5 separate regions of the Homo sapiens genome follow, and all the other regions are linked to region 1. Evidence: promoter capture Hi-C in 16 types of primary human blood cells and fetal thymus (Javierre and others, 2016). All regions are on one chromosome and are shown on one strand. The core of a region is centred on a gene start or on the middle of the fragment in contact, and the rest is flanking DNA. Distances in the headings are between cores, read along the strand shown.

What was found. Contacts are between HindIII fragments. The CHiCAGO score rates a contact against its expected background, and 5 or more counts as called.
Region 2: a contact is called between the fragment with the promoter of FCHSD1 here and the fragment with the promoter of PCDH1 in region 1, in 12 of 17 cell types (neutrophils, non-activated CD4 T cells, naive CD8 T cells and 9 more). The highest score is 8.4, in neutrophils.
Region 3: a contact is called between a fragment that was not itself captured here and the fragment with the promoter of PCDH1 in region 1, in 17 of 17 cell types (M1 macrophages, M2 macrophages, endothelial precursors and 14 more). The highest score is 10.3, in M1 macrophages.
Region 4: a fragment that was not itself captured here is called in contact with the fragment with the promoter of PCDH1 in region 1 in 17 of 17 cell types (endothelial precursors, megakaryocytes, M2 macrophages and 14 more); the score reaches 33.4 in endothelial precursors.
Region 5: a fragment that was not itself captured here is called in contact with the fragment with the promoter of PCDH1 in region 1 in 6 of 17 cell types (endothelial precursors, M1 macrophages, M2 macrophages and 3 more); the score reaches 10.2 in endothelial precursors.

What each region holds. Positions count from the first base shown.
Region 1 is chr5:141,876,715-141,880,752 of GRCh38, forward strand. PCDH1 (protocadherin 1) reads right to left here and starts at 1,696. Exons shown (of 5, transcript NM_032420.5): 1 at 1,509-1,696. The coding sequence starts at 1,548. RefSeq lists enhancers at 1-678, 945-1,694. The HindIII fragment of the contact is 20,024 bases long and covers 1-4,038 here.
Region 2 is chr5:141,649,017-141,653,054 of GRCh38, forward strand. It overlaps FCHSD1 (FCH and double SH3 domains 1), which reads right to left and starts at 2,402. Exons shown (of 20, transcript NM_033449.3): 1 at 2,332-2,402; 2 at 2,004-2,101; 3 at 1,343-1,388; 4 at 871-938; 5 at 379-520; 6 at 156-292; 7 at 1-4. The coding sequence starts at 2,352. RefSeq lists an enhancer at 424-1,002. The HindIII fragment of the contact is 983 bases long and covers 2,076-3,058 here.
Region 3 is chr5:141,667,936-141,671,973 of GRCh38, forward strand. ARAP3 (ArfGAP with RhoGAP domain, ankyrin repeat and PH domain 3) reads right to left here. Exons shown (of 33, transcript NM_022481.6): 11 at 3,960-4,038; 12 at 3,635-3,817; 13 at 3,330-3,465; 14 at 2,577-2,693; 15 at 1,987-2,128; 16 at 1,774-1,876. Among named protein-coding and RNA genes, the nearest start is that of ARAP3, 12 kb to the right of the region's middle. The HindIII fragment of the contact is 5,295 bases long and covers 1-4,038 here.
Region 4 is chr5:141,692,162-141,696,199 of GRCh38, forward strand. No RefSeq gene overlaps it. Among named protein-coding and RNA genes, the nearest start is that of ARAP3, 12 kb to the left of the region's middle. RefSeq lists enhancers at 125-658, 659-1,192 and a silencer at 137-186. The HindIII fragment of the contact is 5,323 bases long and covers 1-4,038 here.
Region 5 is chr5:141,733,112-141,737,149 of GRCh38, forward strand. No RefSeq gene overlaps it. Among named protein-coding and RNA genes, the nearest start is that of ARAP3, 53 kb to the left of the region's middle. RefSeq lists silencers at 1,771-2,065, 1,828-2,028. The HindIII fragment of the contact is 3,536 bases long and covers 541-4,038 here.

The sequences.
Region 1 (4,038 bases), core at 446-2,945:
ACTGGCCTACAGCGGGGACCAGGCGGAGGGGGCGCTCAGGTGTGAGACGAACCCAGGTGTGCGGGACCCACCAAGGTGTGTGGGACCCAGGTGTGCTGGAGACCCAGGTGGCTCAGAAAACTCAGCTAAATGGCTGGAAGAGGGTCGCAATCACCGTCCCAGGCTAGCACCCTCTACAAAGGAACCTGGGGCCCCAGAGCTCCGGGGAGGCGGGATGGCTTGGCCAGCCAGGTCCAGCTTGTTCCCGGAACACCAGCCGGTTCGGCCCGGGAGTGGGGGTTGGGGAGGCGCCGACTGGGAAGCCGGCAGGCCGGCCCAGCCTTCCCGCTGTGCCGATATTTACAATAATAATGTCGCGATTAACGTGGCGGGGCGCTTGGGGCTCGCCGAACGACCCCGGCGGCTTCTCCTGCCTGAATCTGGACTCCGAGAGAGAGGAACGGAGTGTGTGTGTTTGTGTGTATGCGCTGCAGGGTGTAATGTAATGTGACACTGTTGGTTTAAGGTGTGTGTGACACCCAGTGTTAAGATGGGTGAAGCAGTGGATTCTGTGTTTGTGACCGTGAGGCGCTGCTGTAGGTGCCAATTCCTGTGTTAGAGTGTGTGCCATCAAGCGTGTGCTGAGATACTGGGTTGTGTGTTTGTGTGGGTGCAGTAGAGGGGTGCAAGGAGACCTGTGCTGTGTACCTATGTTCTGGCCAAGAAGTGGGTAAGATGATATATGCTAGGGTGTGTTCCTTAAAGGAATGTGGGGGGTGGCTAGGTTTTGAGGGTTCATCTAGTGAACTGTGGCTGTGACACTCGTACATGAGGGCACGAGATTGTGTTTGTGTGTCCACGTCGCGGGGTGTCACACCCGGTTGTGTTATTGCTCTGTAAAGCCACGGGTTGTGTGTCGGTGCTGCTGATCGTGCAGACACTGAAGCGGATTCTGAGCTGGCGACGGTGCCCCAGTGGGCGCTGGTGTGCGGGAGGTATGTCTGTGTGCACATATGCAGGGATGTATGTATGTGTGTATATATGTCCACGGTCTGGCCCTCTGGGTGCCCGCGAGAAGCTGGAAGCGGCTGAGTGAGCCGAGGTAGTTGCCCAACAAGTGTGTATGTATGTGTTGTGGACAACGGTCCTTGCTTGCTCCGTCCTCCGGGAGACCCCCACCAAACTGGGGGCCGCGCGCTTCCCCAAACCCATCCTCCACGCCGCGCGCTCCTGGAGTCTCCTTATCCCCGTCTCTCCGAGCGCGCCCAGGTTTGGGACGCGGGGACTAGGGTTCTGCTCAGCACCCCCTCCCCTCCCTCGGCTTCTCGCCGCGGACCTGGGAGGACGGAATCCCTCAGCCGCATCCCCTGCTATGGGCTCCCAGCAGCCCCCACCTCAGCCCCCTCGCGCCGAGCTCGTGTTGGGCCCCCGCGGCCTCGCTCCGCCGAGCGCCCCTCCCTCAGCTCCCGCCGGCCATGACCGCTTCGGGCCCCAAGCCGCTGCTGCCTCCACCGCCGCCGGATCCTTACCCGCCTCCGGGCAGCGCCGGCCGCCCGCCCCGCTGTCCATGAGCCGCCGCCGGCCCCGGCCTGGGCTGCGGCTCCGCACGGCTGGGGCTGGAGCTGCAGTTCGGGCTCCGGCTCCGGCTCCGGCTGGCTCTGGGCGCAGCAGCCCGGCGGCTTTGCGTCCGCGCCGCGCTCCCGCTCCCCGAGTGTGTGAGGCGGCGGCGGCGGCGGCGGCGGCGGCGGCGGCGGCGGCGGAGCCAGCAGAGAGCGGAGCGCACAGCCCGGCCCGCCCCCTCCCTCCCCCCTCCCTCCCGGCCCGCCCGCCTCCCCGCCCCCCCTCCGGCCGGGAGGTGGAGCTCGGGACCGCTCCGGTCCGGCTGGGAGGGGACCCCGAGCACCGCTCCCCAAAGCCTGGACCCCTCCCTCTGCCATCTCTTCACTGCCCGAGGCCCAGTACACAGGCCGTGCCCTCCTCTGAGCTTCACCTTACACTTATCCCACCCAAGCCTCCATCTAGGACCGCTCCTGGATTCCCCTCCTTACCCTACTCAAACACCTGTCCCCAGCTCTGTCTGCCCCCTGGGAAGTCGAGGCAAGGGAAGTGTCTCCCACAGCGCCTTCTTCCCTGGGCACCTGCTCCTCCATATCCACCCTCTTCCCGCCCAGATCCCCGATCGCCCTGTGTGGCCCTCCCTTCCCGCTGCGCTCGGGGAAAGTCCACCCCTCCCCCTCCGGCCGAAGCCGCAGAGCGGTCAGCCTCGGTGGCCGCAGCAAGCCGTGGGGGTGGGGCTATGGAGGGGACCGTGGGAGGAGGAGGCTAATGGGACCCGGGGGCTCTAGAGTGAGGATGGGGAAGATACACAAGCGTGAAGACGAAGTGCTGCTCCTGAGCTTAGGCTATTCGAGGGTCCCCTGATCACCTGCCCTCTGCACGGCGTAGTGCTGCGGCCACACGTATTTGCCAGTGACTTACATTATACAGTCACCGGGTCCCTGCCCCGCGAGGCCGCGCAGTGTCACGGCCTGTGTCACACGCCCTCGCAGTGCCACACGCTCCCTATCACACTCACACCAAATCACACACGGTGTCACACGCAGTGTCTCACACACTCCAATACTCGGTTTCTCCCATTCAGCTCTGGCTCTCTGGCGCCATCTAGAGGTCTCTGAGTAGCTTGGGAACTCCCTCTCCTGCGCTTGCGGTTTGGTAACCCAGGCTACCAAGTGTCCCAGTTCAACAGGACCTCCTGCCTTCTTCGCCTGCAGGCCCAGGCAGAGTGTTCTAGGTCAAAAGAATGAGGAAGGTTATCCCTAGCCAGGCCTAGTGCTGGGTGAGGAAAGGCTCTTGTTATGGGATGACCAGTTGTTGGGCCTCTTTTTGCCATAGCCTCTGACTCCCCATCTCTGTCCTTCCCCATTTTCCTGTTCCTACCACTCTTCTGTGCCTTTCCTCTTTCTTCTACTTCCTTCTCTTCTCAGCTCTGGCCTCTCTCGGTGGGATGCTCTTCAGGGTAAAAGTGGAATCTCTGGTTAGCTAAGAGGGCAAGCAAAGTCTGTCCAAGATCTCTCCCAGAGCAGCCCTGCTTAACTGGACTCCTTTTCTGACCTGGGCTCTGCTCTATCCCTCAGCCCCAGGAGCCCAGGGGCAGGGCTCTAGATGGGAGATGGGGTAATCTGGTGAAAGAGGGGGGTGGGTCTGTTCTGTAAGTAGCTTCTTTCTGTCTCTAGAAAGCTCATACTCTCCACATCATTGAGCACAGCTCCGAGGAGGGAATCAGTGGCCCAGAGAGAAGAAATCTTCCACAGAAGAGCTGCCCCGGTCTCCCTGCCCCCAGCGTGTGCCCGCTGCCCAATGCAGCAAACCCTCCCCAGTCTGCTTGCTGGGAGCCATTCAAAGGCTCCTCTGTTCTCCTCCCTTGCTCAGGGCTGAGCAGGATCAGCAGCCGCAGAGCTGGGCAGGAAATGCTAATCTCCCAGATGTTCGCCTCCATCCTCCCTGCTCCACCACCATCAAACTCAAATTCTGCACCAAGTGGTAGGAGCAGAACTGGGCCACAGCAGCAGCACCAGGGTGTGCCTACTCTTCTCCCTGCTCCCCAGCCCCTCCTACCCCAGCTGCCAGGCTGGGCTCTGTGCCCCTGAGTCAGGGACAATGTAGATATGAGAATTGGGGCCTTTTTTCCCCAGGAAAGAGGGCAGGTGAGCAAGCAGGGACTGGGAGGATGGTTGGGGAGCAAGGGAGGTGGCATTTGAAGAGGAGAGAAGTCAGACTTCTGGCCCTGTACCAAAGTGGGAGGAGGACCTGCTTGGCAAGTGAAGCACTGGGGGAGGCTCCTGAAACTGATGGTGCCTGAGTTCCAGCTGAGACTGTGGCCAGGGATTGGAACCAGGGTGATGCTGGGTATGGGAATGGTTGGGGTGCTTGCTGTGATATCCGTGTACCTGGGATGGGCTGTGGCTAAGTGAACTAGGATGCTGTAGGGCCTGGAACTGTAACACCAAGGCTGCTGCCTCTGATTGTACTTAGGACACTGTTGCAGTGCTCTGATGCTGG
Region 2 (4,038 bases), core at 1,152-3,651, 230 kb before region 1:
TAGCCTGTGCAGATGAGAGAAAGGAGTCAGGCCCACCCCAAGTGGGAGAATATGAGATCAGAGTCAGGCCCAGCTTTGGTGACTTGGCTCCACCCCTAGACAGCCCCACCTCCCTGTTCCCCAACCTTGGGCTTCCTCACTCTCCATGACCCCACCTGGCCTGGACATCAGCCGCCTTCTCCTGTGCCAAGGCCCACACACGTTCCCGCTGCCCATACAGCTTCCGACTTCGGCTCAGCTCCCGGACAGACTGCAGCACCTCAGCCTGCGCCCTCTGGAGGTTCTCTGTTCCCTATTGGGATGCATACACAAAGTCCTTACCTAGACCACCTTTGGTCCCAAGCCAGCTCTTCCTTCACCCCAACCTCTGAGCCATACCTTCCTAAGCACCTGCTCCTTGGCGCTCCGCCCTGTACCCCCTGCTAGGTCACGGTATCGGTCAGACGCCTGGAGTCGGGTTTGGCCCCCAGCCACGGTGGCATCCAGCAGGCAGCGCCAGGCACCGAACACTGTCCTGCCCCTCCCCAGAGAAGGTCTGTGTTGAGGAGGAGAGCACTCCACAGCTTCATGAGACCACCCCCACCCCCTGCCCCCTGACCAACACCATGGGAGACAGAGTGCTTTCCCATCCTCCCTTGTCTGGGAGCCCATCAATCGATCAGCCCATTAGCTCAGCCACAAGCCTCACTCCTGCCCTCCACCCCACCCACAGTGTCCTTGCTGGGTCAGCTCCTCTGCTGCTGCTGTGTCAGCTCTACCTACAGCTCACGTGCCTTCCCCACTTGCTAGGCCTTCATCCCCACAGGTTCCTGGGGCTGAGCTCCCCATCACTTTTTGGCCTCTGTGGCCCTCCCCCTCCATAGGGCCCACCTGCTGTCCATCTCACCGCTCCGGTGCCCTTCCCTCTTCAGGAATGGGCCAGCCAGTTTCTGGAGTGCCTGGTGAAAAAGCCATCACAGAACCAAGTTCCCTTTCAAAGACCCACCCCAACTGGCAGAATATGACATCAGAGTATAATCATACCATTCTTTGGGTACATTATGTGCCACTTGCTTTGCTAAATGCCTTATAGTCATTAATTTGTTTAATCCTTACAACAACCCTACATGAAGGTAAGGTATTATTATTATTCCCATTTCACAGAGAAAGAAACTGAGGTCAAGAAAGGTTAAGTAACTTGTCCAAGGTCACATGGCTATAATTACACAGCAGGGATCTGACACCAGTCTGCTTGACTCTAGGCATCTGCTCTTGACCACAATAGGGATAGGTATGGACAGACATTACTGGTGATATAAGAGAGGCTGGAACAAGAGGTAAGGTCCAGAGAAAAGTCCCATACCTGCCCATACTCCCGTTCAATGGCTGCCCTCTGCTTGCTGTAGGATCTGCGGAGATTGCAGGTCGGGGGTGAGGTGGGGGATAAGGTTATGTTTGGTCCTGTTCTCCCATCCTCAGTCCTCTACTCTGGGCAGGAGGGAGCGGTTGGGGGGAGCCAGGTTCCTAGAGTGTAACTACACCCAGAGGGAATGGGACTGATGGGAGTCCTTGAGATCACCTCGGGCAGCTGCAACACAGGAAACCCTCACCTTACTGCCCCGGGCCCCAGCAGGATCCTCCCCACCCCAGAGGTTCATCTGTAGGCTTAGAGGTGAAGACTGATGGGGGCCTGGGTACGATGTCTGCCAGCCTTCCAACAGGTCTGGAAGAGGGAGAGGGATTCTGCCCTAAGGTTGATTGTGGGGTTGGGGGCAGTGGTGTGGAGTCAAGGGCTTTGAGGGAGGGTTCCTGTGTGTTTATGTGGGTGGGAGGGGGTTGGGAGGGGTTAGGTGGGGGAGCATTCCTATCCAGTATCTGGAGAGGCCAGGCCTAGGGTGAGGGCTGTGGATGGGTCGGCTGGGGAGCTCTTGGCCCCTGTTCCTCCACCCCAGCACATGTATATTGGGGAGAAGTGGCGCACAACGACGAAGGTGAGTGTAAATGAAGGGGGTTGGGGGAGCTACCTGATGTCCTCCAGCAGATCCGCCTCCCTCTGCTGCCAGGTCTGAAGGATGCTCAGCTGTTCCAGGAAGCGAAGCTTCACCTCCTGGGCCGGCTTCACCTGTGGGGGCAAAGAGAGGATGAAGACCCCAGCGCAAGGACCTAAAAAACACTCCGCGCAGGGAGCGGTGAGGGGGCGGGGCCGGGGGGGTGCTGAGCTCTTTCCTCTGTTACTTCTGGTTTGGGGTCTGACCCCTTCCGACTTCCCGTCTCCTACCACAAGTCGGATGCCCCCTTAGCTCCCTCCGTTCCCCCAGCCCGCCAGGAGTCCCCATTCAGGGCCAAGCTCACTTTTCGGGGCGGCGGCTGCATCTCCGCTCCAGCAAGGCGGTCAGCCACTGGACTCCGGAACTGGAGGAAGCCCCGCCCACTATGGAGCCCCGCCCCAGGCCAGGTCAGGCCCCGCCCTCTGCCCGCCCACGACTTGTCCGGCGACGTCGCAGGGCGCGGAAGCGAGAGGGGGCCACCGAGAAACTAAACCTGTTACTGCTGCGAATACGCCGGCAGGGTCCGGGTGGCGGGGCGGGCGGGGCGGACGCAGCGTCCGCTGGGCGGTGGGAAGAACCCCAGGCATCTGAGTCAAGACGCCTAAGTTCTATTTGTAGTGTAACCACTGATTCAGCCTGTAATTATTGATAATTATTCATTTGCATATGTAGATCCCCAGTCCCCGAGCTAATGATGAGGAATGGAGAGGAATTCAGTGTGTGACCAGGGAAACTGAGTCACTGGGCACCTGAGCAAAGATGCATCTGACGAAGAGAGGGCTGGTCCCAGACCTTTTCCTAATTCCCGCTTAACTGGAAAAGCCAGCGTGAGCGGGGTGAGAAAGATGCCTGGATCCAGGAAGGAACCAGGCCCAAAGGGAAAAAGACTTGGCCCCACTGAAAACTAAACGATACCAGTGAGTCGGCGAGAGCTGGGAGATGCGCAGGAAGCCCCTGCCACCTTTAGGATCTTCCAGCCCTAGCACTGCTTCCTGAGGAGCCTCTCCCCAATTCCTCATCCTCCTCACCTAAGCTTCTTTGGCTCAGGCACCTGTCCCAGTACCCCTGACATGTCTCAAAACTCCAGATTCACATTCCAACTCCCCACTGACACCTCTGCTAGTATATCTAATAGGAACCTCAACTTTTAAAGCTTTTAAACCTCCTTCAACCTGATCCTCCCCCCGTAACGTTTTAAATGGCACCGCATTTCCTCCAGTCAGTTAAGTCAGAAACCCAGAGTCAATGTGCCTTCTCCTACCCCTACATTCTATCCATCAGTAAGTCCTACAGGTTCTATTTCAAACAACAATAAACAAACAAAAACCTCTTGATCCACTTCCCTCAATTTCCAAGACCACCATCCTAGTCCAAGCCCCCATTATTAGACTTCTGGTCTAATATCTGATCTCCTTGCTTCCACACTGCCCTCACCCCAACCCACTGTTCACACAGCACTCAGAGTGATCAACCTTTTTTTTCTTTTTTAAAGGGAAATAAGATCTCATAATTTACTTGCTTAAAATGCACTTGCTTCAGAATAAAATCCAAATAGAATCCATGGCCTTCAAGGCTACGCATGGAAGACCCTGCTGGTCTTTCTTACTTCAGCCTGTACTCTCCTCCCACTGTCTGCTCACTGTGCTCCAGCCTCTTTGCTGTTCCCTCAGTAGACCAAGTCCCTTCCAATGCAGAGTTCTTCATGCCTGCTTTCTTTCTCCAGAATCTCCTCCTTCCAGCGTTCCATCTGTCGCCTCCAACAGCTTCTTTCCCTTACTTTGCAACTCTTCACAGATGCCTTCCCCATCCACCCATCCAAAGACCATCTCCACAATCACTCTTTTTTTTTTGAGATGGAGTCTTGCTCTGTTGCCAGGCTGGAGTGCAATGGTGCAATCTCGGCTCACTGCAACCTCCACCTACCAGGTTCAAGTGATTCTTCTGCTTCAGCCTCCCGAGTAGCTGGGATTACAAGCACGTGCCACCACAACCAGCTAATTTTGTATTTTTA
Region 3 (4,038 bases), core at 750-3,249, 210 kb before region 1:
GGAGGCTGAGGCAAGAGAATCGCTTGAACCCAAGAAGCGGAGGTTGCAGTGAGCCAAGATCTCTTCACCGCACTGTAGCCTGGGAGACAAGAGCGAAACTCCATCTCAAAAAGAAAATAATAATAATAATAAAAATGAGTTGCTAGAAAATCTGGATGAAAAAATGAAGAATACAACCCGACCCGCTTTTTTTTTTGAGACAGGGCCTCACTTAGGCTGGAGTGCAGTGGCATGATCACAGCTCACTGTAGGCTCAAACCTCCGAGGCTCAAGCAATCCTTCCACCTCAGCCTCCCCAGTAGCTGGGACTATAGGTGAGCACCATCATGCCTGGCTAATTCTTATTTTTTGTAGAGACAGGGTCCCAGGTTGCTCTCAAACTCCTGGGCTCAAGCAATCCTCCCGCCTCAGCCTCCCTAAGTGCTGGGAATTGCAAGTGTGAGCCACCACCCCTGGCCCAAGCCCTTTTTTTATAATTAGATTCAACACATAAAATTACTATGTCAAATTGCTATAAAATATTCTAAATGCTTACTCTCAAGTTCTGTGCTTATCCTGTCATGGACCATAACACATAGTCCAGGGGCTAGTATGGTGTGACAGTCTTCACAGCACCCTCCGGGTAGCACTGCCTTAAAGGATGGGATAGCTTTTTGGAAAGTGTAGATAATAATGAGAGGAGACTTAAACCTGGTTGGGAGGGCCACGACAGAGCCCTGAAAAGATATGGAGACAATGTGTTAGTGTGAGGAGTTGTAGGAGACCTGGGAGAAGGGGGTCAAAAGCCAGAGCAGTGGAGCATTTCCCATACAGGAGTGCCGGATGCTGCAGAGATGACCTGGTGAGGCTGGGAGGCAGCCTTGGCCTTTGGAAATGGGAAGGCACTGGTGACCTGCCAGGTAGCAGTTCAGGAGGGCATGGGCAGAGGAGGGTAGCTGCAAGGGGTCAAAGGGGAACTGCAGGCTGCACACGACTTTCTGACGCATTGTCAGGAGGGAAAGGAAGGCACCAGGGTGAAAAGTTGAAGATGGAACAGATCTTAGGGAAAAGCTGTCTTAGGATGGGAGAGACTGTCGTCATCATCGTCATCATCACTACCATCATTATTATTTCAACGCCCACATACTGAGGGCTTGCTGTGTGTGGGCCTCACATGTCATTTAATCCTCAACCCTAGGGGGTGAGTCTTTTACGCCCACCCTACAGATGTGGAAAAGCTCACAAGGCTGAGAGTTGTGACTCAAATCCCAGGATGTCTGACTCCAGGGCCTGAATTTTCAGTTTTGGGAATGGCATACAGGAGAGAGATACTGGCTTATCTAAGAATGGAGAAGCTGGGAAATATGAAGGTAGCTTTGCCTCCGGGCCTGCTGGAAAACTGGAGCAGAGGGTGGGTAGTGGGAATCAGAGCCAGCTTCTTCGTGGGAGGAGGCATTGGCACAGTGAGGTTTGGGCCGTGAGCTTTGCAGACAGAGGCCTGAATTTTAGTCCTGTGCTCTGCTGCCTCCTAGCTCTGTGACCTTGACCAAGTGAATTCGTAAACTCTAAAACTTAGTTTCCTTATACTTAAAACCTCACCTCAGAGAGTGGTTGTGAAAATTAAATGAGATATCGAGTGGGCAGTGCTTAACACAGGGCCTGGCACAGAATATGTGCTCAGTCACCCTTAGCTGTTAGTGGAAGAAGTGGCTGTAGGAATAAGAGAGGAGAAGATGGGAGCACGTGGGGACAAGGAAAGCATGAGATGCTGCAGAGGGCGCTCTCCTGTCTCACCTTGCCCACAGCACTAGTCCAGGCCTCCAGACTGTCAGCTCCATCTGTGCCAAAATGCTGGATCCTCCCCCCAGCGAGGATGAGCTCAAAGGAAAAGGGGAACCTGGAGAGAAGATGAGGTCAGGGAGGAGGATGGGACCAATGAGAGGGCTGTCAGGCTGGAGGTTGGGAAGAGAAAAGGGGGAAGCTCAGTGGTCACAGAAGGGCTATTACCTGTCACCTGGGTCAGTGGGTGGGGGGCTCACACCCAGACATACAATATCCTGGGGCTGTATGAGGCTGAGGGGTTCAGGGCTGTTTTCCGATGCAAACATTTCCAGAGCTGCTCCCAGCACACACCAAAGGCGCGGGGGAGCTAAGGCAGAGGGAGATAGTCAGGGAGCAGCAGACCTCTGCCCCCACTGTCATAGTTCCAGTTTACCAGATATTTATTCTGTGCCAAGCCCTTTGCCCATATATGATCCCATGTAATCTTCACAATAACCCTATGAGGTGTTATACTCAGTCCTGTTTTGCAGATGGGGAAACTGAGGCTCAGTTTCAGTAGCTTGCCCAAGACACATAGGTAGGAAGTAGCAGAGCTGGGATTTGACCCAGACAGTCTGACTTCAGAACAGATGCTCTTAACTATCACCCAATGCTGCCACTTGGCATGGTCCCTCTCTCACCCCCAGGACCCCAGCCCATTCCCAGGCATGGCCCCACTTTCCCATCCCAGCCCTCTCCTCTTTGTCCCTCTGCAGTACCCTCACACCCATCCACTTTCTGTCCCTGTATCCTCCCATCCCTTGGCTCCCCCTCACCATCCCGGCCCCTGCGAGGGGGTGAGGGTCCAGCTTTGTTGCTGACGGGACTGCAGTACAGGAAGCCGCTGTAAGTAGCACGCACCACCACCTCATTGTACACACCAGGGGAGGGGTCTGCAAGGGGAAGGGGAAGTAGTCAGGTCAACCAAGTGCAACGGGATAACCTGACCCCCTCTGGGGAAGGGATGAAATGGAGAAAGACAGTGGGACCTGACTCCACTGCCAGCACAGCCAAGTAGAGCCCAATGGAGCTGGATCCCTCACTACCCAGATTGCAGAAGAGAGAGGCAGGGGGTAATGAGACAGGGAGGCCTCTGGCCCAGCCCCTGCCCACTGCCTCTCCCTACCAGCCAGCCAACCAGGCTCTTAGCTCTGGGTGAGCACCTCAGGGCATGTACCATCCTGTAAGGGTCTCAGCCCCCTGGCCTGACCAATGGAGATGAGTGTCACTAAGCTGATCACTTCTTTGAGAGATCACACTGTCTCCAGGGAGACTAGTCCTGACCTATGGGTCGGCCCTGTCAGGGGTGGACCAGCACTAGCACCTGGAACACCCAGACCCTCCCCAGCCATGACCGTCATCAGCTATCACATGACATCAGGAGATAGGCCCTGGAGGATCTGAGGGTTTGGGAAACTGCCCAGGCTGGGCCATTGTGATCAGCTAATTGGGGCCCCTTGGAAGAACTGAATCATAGGTTGGGTCTGAGAATTCCTGTAGGGGAGAGAGGAGGCACTTGGGGGAATGACCTGAGGGCAAGAGGCCAGGGCAGCTGCCATCAGGGGCTGGGGGGAACCAGGGCTCCTCGCCTTCAAAGGCCTCAACACAGAGGAGCTGGGTCATGTTCTTCAGCAGGTTGGGTCTTGCCACAGCTGCACACAGTGCCTGCAGGGAGGGAAGGGCCTCTGTCAGCCCCAAATCCCAAACTGAGAGCACTGGGGACAGTCGTATCATCACTAAAAACAGTCCCCACCACCCAAGTCTAGGCATTCCAACTCCAGAGAGTGTTTCCTGACCCCCCCACCCCAGATCACCCCTGCTCTGTCCCTCCTACCTGGAGAAGCTGGCTATGATCTGGGTACTGAGGGTGGGGCTTCCGGAAGAGACCCAGACGGTACTTTCGGGAGATGAACTCTCCCCGGGGGCCAGGGGTCGCATCTGGATGTAGTCCCTCACCTGGGGGTAGGGTCCCTGCCCAGAAGCGGTTGGCACGATCATTTCCCAGGACAATGAATAACTGTGGGATGACAAGGGACAAAGGCAGGTGACAGGAACTCAAGAGTCCTCAGATGTTCCATTCCTGTCCCCAGGCTGGCCCAAGGCCTGCTTCTGGACGCTCCCTTCTACGCCTCCCACCTTCTCCCTCTTCGCCCGCTCACCTGTACTATCTCATTACTCCAGACACTCGTGTCCAGCTTCAGGCTCTGCACCTTGGAGATCCCAGAACCCAGGGCCCGG
Region 4 (4,038 bases), core at 1,077-3,576, 180 kb before region 1:
TGGCGTGACTTTGGTGCAAGCAGCCGCAGGAAGAGGCTGCCGCCAGAGCGGGCAGGAAAGGGCGCGTTCCCACATATGTCCACTAGATGGCGCCCCAACACCGAGCCACTGAGCTCCAGCGGCCGAATGGACAGGCCCCCAGCAGGGAGGCGCTGTGCGAGACCCGCCCCTCTGTCCGTGGACACAGGTCTCCAACCCTCCGACGCTCTCCCTGATTTCTGCATCACCGATCCCCTTCGCTGCTACCCCCAGGAGATGGTCTCGGGGAGGAGAGACTTCCCAGGCTACTTGGGAGGGATTCTTCCTTCTTTCCCCTGGAACTGTCTCTTAGCGGTGCCCAGCGCTTCCCAGGGCCTCCGCAGCACTGCCTCTCCCTTCGTTCCCTTCCTGAATTCCCCAGGCCCTCCCTGTCACTCCCACTCTCTCAACTTCTGCCAGTCTTCTGAGGCAGGGACCATTAAGGCCCATTCCACAGATTTGGTGATGCAAATGCATGCAAATGTATGCAAATCGCCATGTAAAGGAGGCTTGCCACTGTGGTTCTAAGTGGCTGTCACAGCTTCTCTGACACCTGTTTTGGGAGACAGCTGCCCTGCCCCCTCCTCCTCGGTGTCTATCTGCTATTCGCCCCCCTTTCCTTCCTCCAAGGCTCTGGCCCCCTTTCCTTCAGCGACCCTGGTTGGCTTCTGGTTACAAAGGACCCTTGGGACTTCTCTCCAAACCCCCTAAAGGGGGCAAGGCGAGAAGCACATCTTATTGGGCACCGACTTTGACATCTGATAATTTCACCATTTTCTAGCTGTGTGACCTTGGGAAAGCAGGTTAACTTCTCTGAGTCTCAGTTTCATCGTTAGCAGAAGGGGAATGATAGTAGGCACCTAATAAGGCTGCGGTAAAGACTCTATGCTGCACTGCGTGTAAAGTGCTTGGCACACAGCCCGAGCATGGGAAGCATGTGGCTATCAATGTTATGATGATCACTGACCCTGTGGGTCATCGTATTCTGAGAACTCGGGCTTGGAGACAGAGATATGCAGGTGGACCCAGCTCAGCCATGTGCACATGTGTGCTCATCTCTGTACATGCGCGCGCACACACACACACACACACAGCTGACAGCCTCACGCGCTGGAGGGGCGCACGCGCGGGTACACACGCATTCAGAAACACACACAGGAGGAGGCTGTGGGAGGTGGAATCTGAGTCATCGAGACCAGAGCTGTGGGTGGTGCTTTTGTCCTGATTTCCGGGGCTCAGTGCTCCATTTCGAACAAGGAAATGTATGCGGATGGCACAGCTAACCAGCCAGCTGAAGGGCCAGTTGTGTGGACCCCTTTCTTGCATCAGCCCCTTCCCCAGGGTTGCTATTGTGCCAGTCCCAGCCTAGCTCTGTGTCATCTGAGCTTTTTCTTCCTCTGACCCTGCCCCTAGCTCCACTGAGGCCTAGTAGGTGGGACGGGGCAGGCCCACTGAGGTGATAGAGCAGGCTCTCAATGACGTCATAGAGAAGGTGATGCCTGCTGCAGCCGCTCGCTGCAGAATGCCCTGGGAGCTTGATGGACATAGTGAGGAAGAGGGTGTGAGGGATGTGGCATACAACGGTAGTTAAGAGCACTATCTTGAGAATAAGGTGAACCCCGGGTTGAAGTCCTGGCTCTGCCTCTGTGTGACTTTTTGCAGTTCTCTTAACCTCTTTAGGCCTCAATTTCTTTGTCAGTAGAATGAAACCAGTCATACCTAACTCAAAGAGTTTTGTGACTTTTCAATGAGATAATGCACATAAACATGTGCTCTGTTCAGTGCTGCATGGACTGAATGTTTGTAAGTGGCCATGATTTTGGATGATGCTGATTGAAGGGCAGCCCCACCCACAGCAGTTTCACGTCCTTCCTAGGAGTTGCCTCTCCTTCCACACCACTCAGGCCTGGAGGGAAGAAGAGAGGCAGTGCTTTTGGTGCCTGGGGTCTCCTGGGTCAGTATGGGCTAAGGTATCAATAGGTAGGTGTGTTGTCCAGCTTTTCTTCTCTGATTAGATGATTAATCAAGATAGGTCGGAATCACAACCTTGCCAAAAGGGAAAGAAAGATGCTGTGGTTTACTGTGCACCTGTTATATGGTAGGCACCATGGTGGGTGCTGTCCCACGTGAGCTCTCGTCAACCTCCCAACAGCTCTGTGAAATAGGTATTAGCATCTTCAAGGTACAACCCCAGAAGAAATGAAGTAACTTGCCCTAGGATGTATAGTCGGTAAATAGAGAAACTGGGATTCAGACCATCTCCCATTCCACACTCTCTACCTTGCCATATACATCCACAGTTTTGATTCCTGTGGGCTCCATGGATGTGGCAATGGGGAGGATCAGTTCCTTGGATGTGCAGCCCCTGCCTCCAGAGCTGCCCAAGTCTGCTTGGGCCTTAGAGGGGGAGGGGTCTGTATTTCTCCGCTCAGTCTCTTGAGAGCCTTGTGGGCAATGGTGGAGCTAGTTAATCACCAAAAGTGTCCCCAGGTGTTATGCTCTTGGCTCCTAGCCAGTGGTTATATGACATCAGGGAAAGGACACAGGTGCATGGAGGTTGGGGGCGGGCTAGGGGCAGCCTAGACACCTGCTGAAGGCTCGGTTCTGTGTCAGTGGGGGGCATGGGGATGGGGGGAGCAGCAGATGGATGGGGTCGGTCTGGGGCAGGGATGCTGAATCGGCTCTGAAGCCCAAGGTGACTCGAGAGCCTGCCAGGAAGAAGAAAGTGTGAAGGAGAAGGAGGGAAGGAGAGCTATAGTGTAGGAGAAACTGAGGCAGCTGAGGGAAAGGACAGTGGGGTCTCAGTGTGGTTGGCCAAGAGTGGTTAGTGGTGCAGGCTTTGGAGTCAGAAGGCACAGGCTCTTATTTCAATGCCACCGCTGATGAGCTATGTGGCCAAAGGCGAGAACTGTCCTCCAGTTTCCTCAGCTGCAAACAGGGTACAAATAGCACCTCTACAAATAGAAGTTCTATCCCTAGAACCTCTAGTCCTTCACCACCAGAACCTAAACTTCATTGCAGCCTGGCTGCCAACTAACCACCCATAGGACCTAAATCACGGACAGGGCCAGGAAGGACCTGCCTCAGACGGCTCCAGGGTCCGGCTCCCACCCAAGTCTAACCACACACTCAATTTTTTTCTCCAACTGATGGCCACCTTTTCCTCTGGGCCCAGGTCTAAAGGTCTACCTGTCTTGCTCATTGGCTAAGCATCCAGTGCATAGTAGGGGCTCCTACTATGAAAGGAGTAATATATGTCAAGTGGCTGATATATTGTTCAATAATTGCCCCTTAGCTGATTTCATTTCAGTGAATATTTCTAGAGCATTCACCCTGTGCCAAGCAAACAAGACTGAGTCCCTGTCCTCACAGATTGGTGGGTGAAGGGTTTAAGGGTGCAGTGAGTGTTACTGAGGTGACTACAGGCACATTCCCAAACCAGGGCCCAGGAGAAAAGGTGGCCAATGCTTGAAGGAAAAAACTGTGTGTGGTTAGGCCTGATTGAGATTTGGCCCCTGGAGCCTTCTGAAGCAGGCCCTTCCAGGCCCCAGCAGTGATTAAGGTCCTTGTGGCTGGTTACTCGGCAGCCAGGCCGGAAGAGAGAGCCGGTAATTAACAAGCTGGCACTCACACAACCACATGTCAGCACGCCCAAGCGCTGGGATAGCTGTCTGTCAGTCGTAACTGCTGGTGGAATTTTTTAGACAGCTGGGCTCAAGCCGGGAAATGAATATAAGTTGCATTTCTATGCATCGTTGTTCATAGTGGTAAAAAAAATTAATCAGTGACATAGCTGTGACACATACTCATTTAAGAGTCTACAGAGAAATGTTCATTTGTCAGAGGCAGCAAAGAAGAGATTATGTGTCAGCTGGGGAGGGGTGAAATATTTATACAATGGCTAAAAAACACCGGTGTGTAAGGGGGTCAATTGATTGTGTCAGTGGCCACATGACAAATACAGCATTGAGCAGCCATGGGCACTACCCTTGTGCCCGGGGGCTCCATTCTGATGACAAA
Region 5 (4,038 bases), core at 1,059-3,558, 140 kb before region 1:
GACTTAGTCTGTTGAGGGTTAAATTGTGTCCCACTCCCTCCAAAATATATTCAAGTCCTAACTCCCAGTACCTGTCAATGTGACCTTATATAGAAATAGGGTCTTTGCAGATGTCATCAAGTTAAGATGAAGTCACACTGGATTAGTGTGCACCCTAATTGAAAGACTCTGGTGTCCTTCTAAGAAGAGGGGACACAGACACAGACACAGGAAGAATGCTATGTGACCACAGAGGTAAGATTGGGGTGATGTGTCTACAAACCAAGGATTGCAGCCACCGGAAGCTCTTGAGGGCGGGAGACCACAATTGACTGCCTTTTGCCCCTCCTAGTGCACTCAGACAAGGGTAAGAACCTTTCTGGCACTCAGAGAGAGACATGGAACAGATTTTCTCTCTGAGCCTCCAGGAAGTAACCAATCCTGCTGACACCTTGATTTCAGACTTCTGGCCTCCAGAAGTGTGAGAGAATAAATTTCTGCTGTTTTAAAGCCACCCAGTCTGTAGTAATTTTTATGGCAACCCCGGGTACCTCATATAGAAGCTTACTAAGAATCCACCATGTGAGGAAAAGAAGGGAAGAATGATTCCATCATAAGGAACAGATTACACAAAGGCAAGGGGGAGTTAGAGGCCATGGCAGAGAGAAATGAAAAGTTTAGTGGGGTTGGAATATTCCCTAGGAGGTGGGAATGGGGGGTTACATTTTAGAGCATGTATGTGTGTCCATATGGTTTGCATGACTGTGATTATATGTATGTGAAGTTTATACATGCATGTGCTTTTCGGAGTTTTGCATGTTTCAGCCTGTTTTTATGATTCATGTGTTTCTGTATGCTCTTGCATGATTTGTGTGTGTGTCCTGACCTGTGAGCATGTGTGCCTTGCATGTCAGTGCATGCATGTGCACAGTCTACAGGTGTGTGCATTGAACCCAAAGAAGTTGGTCTATGGTTGGTCACAGGAAGATTTGAAGCCAGGCAGAGCCCTGTTTCCTCATCTATGTGGTTGGGGCTCACTGTAAATGGCAAAAACTTGGTCAGACTGTGCAATGACTCAGGTAGACACCAGGAGCTCAGAGCTCATCTGTCTTGATTCAAGAAGATCAAAGCAGAGTGGATGATGCCTTGACTGCATTGGTTAGCAAGAGGCATGTGTGGTACAGAACCACTGAGTCCTTGTGTTTGACAGCTGGAGGTGGCCTTGGAGATTGTTCTGATTCCTCTTGCACCTCAGCCCAGCCCCACTGGCACTACTCCTGGGGAGTGCCCAAACTCAGTGCATCTTCCCAGAGAACATCTTCTTGGTAGAGTCCCACTCCCTGGGCAAGTTTTACAGTGGAGGGCAGGAATCAGGAAGGACACCCCTATCCCAGGCCCTCTTGATGGGATGTGCAAAGGGTTGGGTATATGCATCTTTTTTTCTGAGGAGATTACAGCCAGATAATCCATGACCCAAGAAATCTAAGAACCACTTCTCTAGTCTAGGCTGACATTGAGAGTGTGAGCGTGTGCATGATATGTGCAGGTGTGTGCAAGCATGCGGAACTCCCAACCTGTTTTCTCTCTGAGAATATGGTTGGATCAGGATGTCAAGTGCAGCCCCAGGCCCTACCAGCTGCTGTGTGGTCAGATTGCAGGGGCTGTCCTTGACAAGGCTGGCAGAACAGACAGAGCCAGTGTTAAGGACAAAAAGGGAGGGGCAGAGGCTGCAGCTCTGTAGGGAGGGCTGGCTTGTAACCTGAAGGAGCTCATCGAGATCAGCTCCCTGATCATCCCCATCCCTTATATGATTCACATTGAGGATGAAGCCTTGGAGGTGGAGCCAGGATGGGTGTGTGGGCAGGGATGGGACCATAGGTTGCACAAGGAGCATTGTGAAGTTCCTGTGTAACAGGAATTGAGGCTGTTCAGGACCTTGGTCAGCACCCCTGGGTTCCCGCAGCACCAGTTTCTCTGCCTGTTTCCAGCCTGCCCTATTTCAATGCCTCTGGCTATGATGGAGATGCTGAGTTACAGTGAACCTACATATAAAGTTCAGGATATAGTTGAGGGCCTTGTCAGGGCTACAGGAATTTTTGAGAGACTGGATGTGAAAAAGGAGGGTCTCTCACATGGGAGACTCAGTGAGGGGATACTGAGCCCCAAAAGAATGAAAAGAGAGGATCTTCCAGAGGTCAGGGTGGGCGGTGGTGGGGGGGAGGCTTGATGTGGGAGCCCTTGGCTTCAGACTCATCCAGTGGGAAGGAAGAGGAAGAGCATCCTGGTGAGGAAGGGGAGGAAGATTCTCCAGCTCGGGTTGTGTTTCTCTTTCCTCTTCTCTCAGGCACTGGGACGAGACAGCCTGAGCCTTACCACCCTTGCCCAACCAAACTCTCTCCGGCTGTGGGCTCCCCAAACATTCCAGGATCAGAGGCTTCCCTGAGGCTATTCTCTGAGACTTGTCCCATGTCCCTTCCTTCTGCTGTCCCACTCCCTTCCTTTCCTGGCACCATCACAGCCCTGCCCTTTGCACCCCTGTCCTAACTGGTAGGACTTTGCTGCTGCCATCCTCTGGCTCCCAGACATGATGGCTCTTTTCCTTCCAAAGAAATTTTTACAAGCAATTAATTAACCTCATCAGATCCTTTCTGTGGGTCCCAGTGCTAGGAGGGAGGCAGGAGAAGTGCCTTGTCCCCTGAGGCCAGTCAAGTGGATATGTGGCTACCTAGGCAGCTGCTGGGAGGATTCTATCTCAGGCAGCCACCTTTTACTCACTCTGGAGCCAGCAGTGTGGGCCCAGGTCCTGGGAGAAGTGAGGTTCACCCTGTCTGCTCGCAGCCCTGGCTTAGTCTCCAAACTGCCTTCCTTATTGGCTCCCTCCAACTTCCCTTTCCTCCTAGTTCTCCCCCAGGCAACTTCTGGGATCAAAGGTTGCATGCAAAGTACAGGGAAGGAATGCAGGTAAGTGTAAAGGAGCATGACCTCAGGTAGCAGTGATAACCTTTCCCCTGCATGCTGGGCCTGCCATTTTGGTGTAGCAAATGGCATGGAAATACAGGCAAATGCATAGTGTCTGCATGCAAATTGGCCCAGACATCCTGGCCACTTCCCTGGCAGCATGCAGCCCCTTGGTGTACCTGCAGGGTCTGATCTCCTGCGACCCTGAGGAGTGGTTCCTCAAATGGTCGGGCACTGGTGAGGGGAACACTGGGCCTACCTCAGCTGGTCCTGATGCCTGTGGATGAGACCCCTTCCTTCCACTCTGAGATCCCAGCTAGGCCCTGGGGTTTACTTAGTGTGTGACAGCGGGGGAGAGGCTGGGGCTGAGAAGAAAGGCAGAGGGAAGAGAGACAAAGTGGTGCATTGATTGTGCAGCTATCAATGCTGGGCTCTGAGCTAGACATGCAAGTTAACTCATGTTCTTCTGACACCCCAAGAAGTTCTTAAAGAACCTGAGGTTTAATGAAATGCAGCAACTGGCTCAAGATCTCACATTGAGTAACTTGTGAAGCCAGAACTAGACCAAGATTTTTATTATCTGAGCAAAATTAAAATGTAAATCAGATAGTGCCATCCTCTGCCCAAATCACTCTCATGGCTTCCCAGTGCTTTTAGCAAGAAATTCTCTTCCTTTCCACGGCCAGCAAGACCATGTCCCTTTCCTCCACCTCATTTCTCACTCTGCCTCAGCACCAGGCCTTTTTATGTTCCTCTAGCACATGTGCTCATTCTCTTCTTAAAGCTCTTGCACTTGCTGATCTGCCTGCTTGGAAACCTCTTCCTCCAAATCTTTATAGAATGGCTTATTCTCATTCTTCAGGTCAAACTCCACCTCTCAGAAGGCCTTCCCTGACTGTCCAGGCAATAGCAGCCTCCCTCCTTCCCTCTCTACCCCTTCTTCCCAATTTATTTTCTTCACAGTACTTAACAGCATCCGAAGTTATTTATCTGTTCACTTGTTCATTATCTGTTTTGCCCACTAGAACATGAGCTCCTTCAGGGTACAAACTGTGTCTCTTTGGTTCACCATTGTATTCCCAGGGCCTGGTGCTTAATAAG